Regions from separate parts of the Homo sapiens genome. Here region 1 is linked to region 2. The links are contacts of gene promoters, found by promoter capture Hi-C in human tissues and cell types (Jung and others, 2019). All regions are on one chromosome and are shown on one strand. Each heading gives the region's core, a stretch centred on a gene start or on the middle of the fragment in contact. The rest is flanking DNA. Distances are from core to core; before and after follow the strand shown. Region 1 overlaps PTPRR (protein tyrosine phosphatase receptor type R). Region 2 holds the start of PTPRR (protein tyrosine phosphatase receptor type R).

What was found. The method cuts DNA at HindIII sites, captures the fragments that hold promoters and counts their contacts. A contact is called where the count stands out against the background at its distance.
Region 1: a fragment that was not itself captured here is called in contact with the fragment with the promoter of PTPRR in region 2 in 3 of the 25 tissues and cell types used here (dorsolateral prefrontal cortex, hippocampus and mesenchymal stem cells).

What each region holds. Positions count from the first base shown.
Region 1 is chr12:70,747,289-70,751,263 of GRCh38, reverse strand. The region is part of intron 5 of PTPRR (protein tyrosine phosphatase receptor type R); the gene reads left to right. All of the region lies in intron 1 of LOC124902960 (a long non-coding RNA gene), which reads right to left. Among named protein-coding and RNA genes, the nearest start is that of PTPRB, 110 kb to the right of the region's middle. The HindIII fragment of the contact is 3,321 bases long and covers 241-3,561 here.
Region 2 is chr12:70,919,417-70,923,495 of GRCh38, reverse strand. PTPRR (protein tyrosine phosphatase receptor type R) reads left to right here and starts at 2,758. Exons shown (of 14, transcript NM_002849.4): 1 at 2,758-3,163. The coding sequence starts at 3,106. The HindIII fragment of the contact is 3,890 bases long and covers 417-4,079 here.

The DNA.
Region 1 (3,975 bases), core at 652-3,151, 170 kb after region 2:
TGTGTCCCAATCCTCAGCAACAGGGGTAAAATTAAGGATGACTCCTAGGTTATTTGGCTTCCCTGACTGTGTGGAAATGTTCTCATTTCCTGGGAGAGGGACACGTTCAGAATGAGGATGAGCGTGTTCAGATGGTTCTTAAAGAAATGAAAGAAATAATTAGATGGATTTCAAACACTGTCTTAAATTTTAATTTGAAGGAGTCACTTTTAAAAGTAACAGGGGGACCAAGTGCAGTGGCTCACGCCTGTAATCCCTGCACTTGGGAGGCAGAGGCAGGGGAATTGCATAAGCCCAGGGGTCTAAAACTAGCCTAAGCAACACAGTGAGACCCTGTCTTTACAAAAAAAAAAAAAAGGGTTTAAAAAATCATCCAGGCTGATGGCACATGCCTGTAGTCCCAGCTACTGAGGAGACTGACGGGGAGGAGCACTTGAGCCCAGGGGTTTGAGGCTACAGTGAGCTATGATCATGCCACTTTACTCCAGCCTGGGCTTCAGATTCTCTGCCTCTGAAAAATATATAAATAAAAACAAATTCTGAAAAGTAACAGAGGAACCCGCAGCACACAGACGGGAAGTTCATATTCACAAGAAAAGAAGTACTACCTAATAGGATTAGCACAAAGCCAAGTTTATCTGATGGAACTTACCACAGAGGAGTCAAGAGTTCATGTTTAGGGACATGTCAAAGCGATTATCTAAAATAAGCTCATCTTTCTAAGTGTTCAAATTATTTTGATAATAAGCTTGATTTAAAGTAAGTGTTTCACGTGCATTTCTCAGTGATACTTGTACTATCACTTTCGTGATTCTGAAACACATGTATTCCAACTCTGTTTCCCATAGTTTTGTTGATTCCATGACAAAGGAAAGATATAACTCAGAATTTTCCCCCTGGCATTGATTATATTTATAACAAATCAAGTGCCTCCATTTGCATTGGCATTCCTACATGCCGTAGAAATGAAAAGCATGGGTTTTATTATAAAATTATATAGGTAAATTGCTGTAATGGAAGGTTGTATGTGCTATGTAACAACAACATAAGACTTGGCAGAATTTTTGAAAAGTGGCATATTGTTTACTTTCCTTAAAATACAAAAAAAAAATGTTGCCAGGCATAAAATTAGACAGGCATGACATTTTCAAATATGCTGACTTATTTAGCACCTCACAAATGTGAATGTGCAGTGGGTGGAGCGACAAATAGAAAAATACAGTTTTCCAAGAAAAAATGTGTGGGCAACTTCCAATCCATTCAGTCTGTTTTAGATGAAAGAAACTTACTAAGAAGAATTAGTTCTTAAACTTGAACAAATAATAGAAAGAACACCATTTATCATCTAAATTAGACATCCAAATGTCCTTACAGGTTTATTAACAAGTACAAAGACATTTATGAAATATAGCTAGAGATGTCTACAGGCCAGATTGCTTCTGGAAAGCAGTTTTAGAAATCACATGAAAATAGTTGTTTGGATCAATAAAAACACTGGCATGTTAGACCCATAGGAGAGTCATCCATATGGGAGGGAAAGAGTTTCTCTAGTTGTAGTCTGGTAGCCGCAGCAAGAAATCCTACATTGAACCACCTGCTATAGCCTTAACATCATGTAATAAATACATGTCAAAGGTGGACATAATTTTCTCATTTGTTAAATATAATCCCTCGGGATGAAGGGAACTAGGACCAGATTCCTAACTGGAATGATTGGTTAGGTAGGCATATATCTCAAATTAATTTTCAATTTTTTTTCTGTATTAAGAAGAATACAATTGTCTTAATAGTAATAACATTAAAAATTAGTTTCTTCCATTTATTGCACACTTATTGGTACTAAACTGGTACTAAATTTACTGTAGTGCTAAATGCCTAACATGTTTTAGTTTCCTAATTTTACTTATGAGAAAACTAAGATTCAGAAAAAATAAATGACTTGACCAAGAACATGCAATGGGTGGATATGGGGGTGGCAGAGTAGAAAGTGGTAAAAATTCAAACCCAAGTCTATCTAAATTGAAAGTCAGCATTCTTTACCATAATTCCATTTGTTTTCATAAAGGAGTCAAACTGTGGTTGTTGTTGTTTGTTGTTGTTGTTGTTGTTTTTAGTCTTATCACTCTGTCTTGTGAACATATATTTCTGGCCACAAATAACTCCAGTAGTAGCAGATGCGAATGGCTGTATTTATCAGAGCCATTCTACCCAGATGGAACTGGTAAATGTGTGCCACATTATACCTCTGTGCTGTGGGCACACCTCTATTTTTGCACTTAGTACTTTGTACTGAACATAATTTTTACACATTTATCTTTTCTGGAAGCCTATGAATTCCCAGAAGACAGAGTTCTGTGTTACTTTTGCATCTACAATATCTTGTTTATGGAATGTAGTAGGGATTGACTCAGGATTATTAAATTAAAAGAGTGAATGAACTCTTTCAGAACTAATTGTAAAACACTGTAAAGAACAAATGTTAAAGACTAGTGGTTGGTGGCATCGTTTTGAAATCTGAACACATTTGACAGAATGTTTTGTGTTACTCATGAGATTTTTGAACGAAAATTTTAAGCTGCAGAAAAGCTTCATCGAATTTTTTTAGCTTCCTCCCATTTCTGTGTTCCTCTGGTTTTTTTATTCCCACTATTATTTTCTTTCTCTTGCTATAGTTTGAGTTTTACAGCTCCTCTCATTCAATAATCTGTTCTCTTTTCCTTTTTTAAATTATTACATGACTTTATTCCAGTCCAAGAGTCAAACAAGCTCTTGGAGATGAAGGCAAAATGTTGACTTGCCATTGCTACGGTAAGCTTTTAGGTTGAGTTTTTCAACAAAGTGAATTCCCATAGAGAAATATGAATATGCTATATTCCAGATCTCAATCTGTGCAGAGAAAAATCTCTGACACACTTTTCCAGATGCTTTCGGAAAGAGGTTTCAAAGAAGGACATGAGACTTTGGAGGAAACAATAGAGTTGAATGATCACATACCTGGAAGTCACAAAACTTGGATTCTAGGTTTTCTTTCCAAACCTCCATAACTCATCCAATAGCTCAGGACTTAAATGTGAAATGAGGAGATTACACCACAAAAATTTTATGATCCCTTACGTCAGGGTTTTACAAACAACACTACTGACATTTCGGAGTTACTATTTCTGTTGGCGGGGGTGTGTGGTGAGCCTTTCCAATGCATTGTAAAGGTAGTTAGCCTCTGCCTACCAGATGCCAGTAGCACCCTTTCCCTTCTCCTTCCCCCACACCCTGAAAATATGACAACCAAAAATACCTCCAGACACTGCCAAACGTTTCCTGAGGGCAAAATCCCTGCCAGTTGAGAATCACTGCCTTATAGCTTAATTTCATGACAACTACCCTATTGCCAAGTAGCAATCTCTTCCATTTTTTCCATATTTTTTCAGACAGCCCAATCTCTTGAGTATTTTTAAACACTATCTTATATACATCATACATTCTCCAGGTTCTACTTTTCCCTAATTAAAGATGTAGAAATCAGTTTGTACACGTACCACACAGAGACAGGTTGCAAAGTTGACCTGTAACCAGACATGAAGTAAACAGATGACTGATTGGAAAATATGTTACAAAGGTTTCTCATCAAAAACATAAGCTCATGAATGGTAAGGAAGGACTTTGGACTAGACTTTGTTTTACACTAATATAAATCATAAAATTGACCTGTCAAGAACAATTGAGAAGGTCAAGATTTCCTTGGCTTTCCCATTTTCGTTGTTGATTCATATTTCTCCAAAATCCAAGTGTAAACAGGCAAGCAAATGTTCTCATATGCATATTATATTTAGATGTGAAGAGCTTAAAATATATAATATATGCCTTATCTTCTAAGTGTATTTTTGTAAAGGTACAGATATATTTGTTTCTTCATTTGGGAAAATAACTTTCTTGCAACTAAAACAATATTTTAAATTCTGTTGCCTCATCGTTTAGTAA
Region 2 (4,079 bases), core at 1,509-4,008:
CTTTTTAAAACCCTGATGCAGTGTTTTAACCAAGCTTTTTTTCCAAAACACCAAGTCACCTTCACTAGCATTAGATCACAGTTAAGGAAAAACAGCACCTATCGACTCAGAATATTTCTGTATGAGTTAAGTGGTTGACTTTTTCACTAATTGGCTAATTCATTCATTGCTGTTTGACTTCACGAACAGCAATGAGTGAATTAGCCAATTAGTGAAAAAGTGAATTGAAGCCGTTACAAGTATGATATTAGATTGACTCACATAGGAATATGACCTTTTTCGTTACTTTATCATTTCTAAGTAAATTAATAATGAATGTCTAGTCACCAAAATTACAGCCCACTCAGGGTTATTTTTACCATGCTGAACTAACTATTCTAATGATATATCCAGCCAAATTGGAAATTGGAAATTTTTGCTGCTAACGGAATTTTCATGCATAGTTTAACAATTCAGCTACCTGCAGCCCTGAACAAAATACATTGCCAGCAGGATGCTTTTTGGCAAAGTCATAGTCAATTATAATAATGGGAATTTTAAATGCCCCACCAATAAATGTTGGAATTATCTGTGGAAAAGGAAGGGGTTCAGAACATTACTGCAGCATTGTTTCATTACCATAAGTAAGTATATTTTATTCTTGGAGATCTATGTAAGTTTGATAATTAGTTATTTTAGGAAACAAGAAAATAAGAAAAATAGACCTATTGTAAGTGGGATACAATTATTTTTCCCTAACCTCCAGCCCTGCAGCATTTCTAGTAACAGATGTTAGATGAGAAGAGTTATTCTTCTAAGCTTTACAGAATGCTAAATAAATTATCTCAAAGGTTGACTCAGTAAGAATTTCAAAGAGTTAATTGTCAGTATTGAACTTTGTCAACTATCATTTTCATTTATTCATTTTTGAGTATCTATTTTGCATGAGGCATTGCTCTAGGGAGTTGGGACATATCAATAAAGTCATCAAAGTTCTTCAACATTGGAGCTCAAATTCTGTTTTGCGGGGGGGAGTAGGGAAATAGATACTAAACAATAGATTTTATAAGTAATTATTTTGGTTTGTTAGAAAGTGATACGGGAAAAGCAAACTGGAGGACAGTGAATCAGGAATAGGAGAAGAGGTTGCAGCTTAGAGTGGTTTGGGATGAAATGATAGTGCCACAGAAATGGAGTGTGCCACACGCATGGGGGAGTAGGGGGTGGAGCACGTTGCTAGAGAGGGGCTAGACATGGAGATATGTCTCTATTTTCAGCAGAGAAGGCCTGTCAAGATATTAAAAGTACATCTCATTGTCCCCTTCTCCCACTTGTTGGAGTGCTTCCTGGCCTTGTCTCTCAGAGCTGAAGATGACATAAATCATAAAAGAAATAAATGGTACCGCCTGGGCTCTCTGATCTTATAAGGTCCCACCTAATTTAAGCTCTGGTGGATAGCCTATTTCCCATTAGTTGTCTCAATTCACAGAGGATGGAGAAAGAAAGCACTGAATGAGATGTGCAGCTCAACTCAATGGGCACTTGTTAGCCCCAATTATTTGGCTAGGACAACTTTATTCAAGTTAATGGAATACAAAACTCAGCAGTTCTTATGGAGACTTCAATGTGCTGTAGAACAAACCACAGATAAATGAACTGTCTGAAAGAATAATATGAGGCACGGCTAAACAAGTGTTGTGGAAGAGAAAGATCACTGTAATCTAGAGTTAGTTAGAGTTAGGGCTTTCTGGAAAAGTGAGACCAACATTACACCTTCGAAAACTAGTGTGGTGGTGGTGCAAGTGGAGGAAAATGGGAAAGAGGCAACAGTGTCCATAAAGACACAGAGGCAGAAAGGGCAGAGGCCCTGGGATAGTTAAAAGAGAAGTCTAGCTGAGGGACTTCTTGACTTGACTAGCAGCAATTAGCCATGACTAATAAGGCTTTCCACACTCCAAAGACTTAGATGGAGGGATAAAAAACCATCTAATGGCAGACTGTGGTAGCCTCCCTAGAGACACAGAGCTGGGCCGGATGAGTCCAGGCACTGACGTGATCCATTATCTTTCACCTTAAAGAGTAAAAGGGAAACTAAAGTTAATTACCTCCACGAAACAAAAAGGTGCCTTCTTGTGCTTCAATTACATGGATATATTCTACTAGTCTAAAAGTATCTTCTCACTTCTTTCTGTCACTGTGAGGACTTGAGTCAGAAGAAAGTTTAAATACAGTCATTGAGCTGGAAAGAGTGGAAAGAGAAGCAAAGAGGGGGAAGCTGTAGGAAGGACGAAGTCACCCCCAAGATACATGGTTACTGCTTACACCAAGCAAGCTGCCTTGGGAACGCTTCCCCCGAGCAGCCAGAATGCTCAGCAGTGGAAGACACCTCTATTCCTGTAGGCGAGTCCTGGGAAGCTGGTCAATCTGCAAATGCCAATTCCCAGCAGTGAGCTCGGTCCACGTGTAAATCAAGATTTGGGGAAAGAGTAGGGTGGGTGGCATGGTTGACAATGTCATCAGCTCCCTCCTCTGACTCCTGTGGTCGTGCCCCCATCTACTCTCACTCAGCTACACCCCACCTTCGGATTTGTGATGGACGCTGGGTCCCTAGTAACCACAGCAAGTGTCTCCCCCGCACTTCCCCCTTCCCCACCCCCACCCCCACCCCCAACCACCACCCCAGCGATGGAGCCTACTCTGCTCCAAGCCGCCGCTAAGACCCGGAGAAGCGGAATTTCACTTTGAAATTCCCTTGCCTCGTGAGGGCCGGCGCTGGGCATGCTCAGTAGCCGCGGCGCTGCTGCTGGGCTGCTGGGCTGGCGCGGAGTCCACCCTGCCGTCTCCGCCTTGGCTTCTGGGCGTCCAGAAGGCCAGGCATTTGCCGCCTCTGAGCGCTTCTGTTCCCCTTACCCGCAACCTCCTACTGCTCTTCCTCTCTCCCTCTCTTAGGGAGGTTGAAGCTGGTGCTGGTTTCTGTCGGCGCCACAGACTGACTGCTCTGCAAACCCCAGCCGAGGACCTGAATCCCGGAGACTAGAAGACCCTTGGCGGTGGCTCTTTCTAATAGCACTTTACCTGAAGTGGGGTCGTGGTGGAGTTTCTCCTCCACCTCTCAATGCAAACACTATGCGGAGAGCAGTCTGCTTCCCTGCGCTGTGCCTGCTCCTTAATCTTCACGCTGCAGGTAAGGGGTTGCCAGGCTTAGAGCCGGAGCTGTGCATGAGATGGGAAACTGCACATGCTTAAGGACTCTAGGAAAAGCTTGCCTTGCGAAGAAAGCCTTTCTAAAAAGGTAAAACAGGACAGTACCTGACAGGGAAGGGGTGAGGGAGTCGTGCACCTGTTGGAAAACTGAGGCCGAAAACTTAACCTAAAATTAGCTCTTGATTTTTCTTTACTTTATACGAAAATAGTGAACATTTTCAATATGAATACAGGTTTGCTCCCCCCTTCGCCTCCCCTCCGTCTAGATTCCCTGCTCTTGTTTCTAGGCTATGCACTTAACTGTCAATTTTTCAGGAGAGGGATAAGACATCCTGCTAGATGTAACCTTTTCTACTGCAGCGGCTACTACATTCATAAGGTCTCTTGGTCTAGCGAGCGCTCATAGGAAGGCATTGGCTGTAACCTGATGGACCACATCTCCGCCCAAAAGATCGAAATACATGGTTCACATTAGTGATGCTGCACCAGGCTCCTTTGGCCCCTGCTCTTGTCACTCGAATTTTCTAAGCCAATAAGAGGAAGAAAAGGTTTCAAATAGAATCCTCTTGTCTCTTTCAGCACCGTGGCTAGCGTCCGCTGGCATATTAAAAAAAAAAAAAAAAAAAAAAAAAAAAAAAACAATTACAGTTCCAAAGCTGACAACCCTGGGTTAGGCACTGTCCCTCGGACAGATTTGATAAGGTGTAACCAAGAGTAACAGTGAGACTGCTCCCAAATATAAATAGATTTGAGGCACCAGAATCAATATCAAGTCTCGTGAGGAAGCAAACCTTGGGAAGTACCTGAGAGATATTATATGTGGTGTCCCTGCTTTTTGCATACATAGCACCTCTATTTAATGCAGACAGACTTGCTAGGCTGAATTCCTTATCATT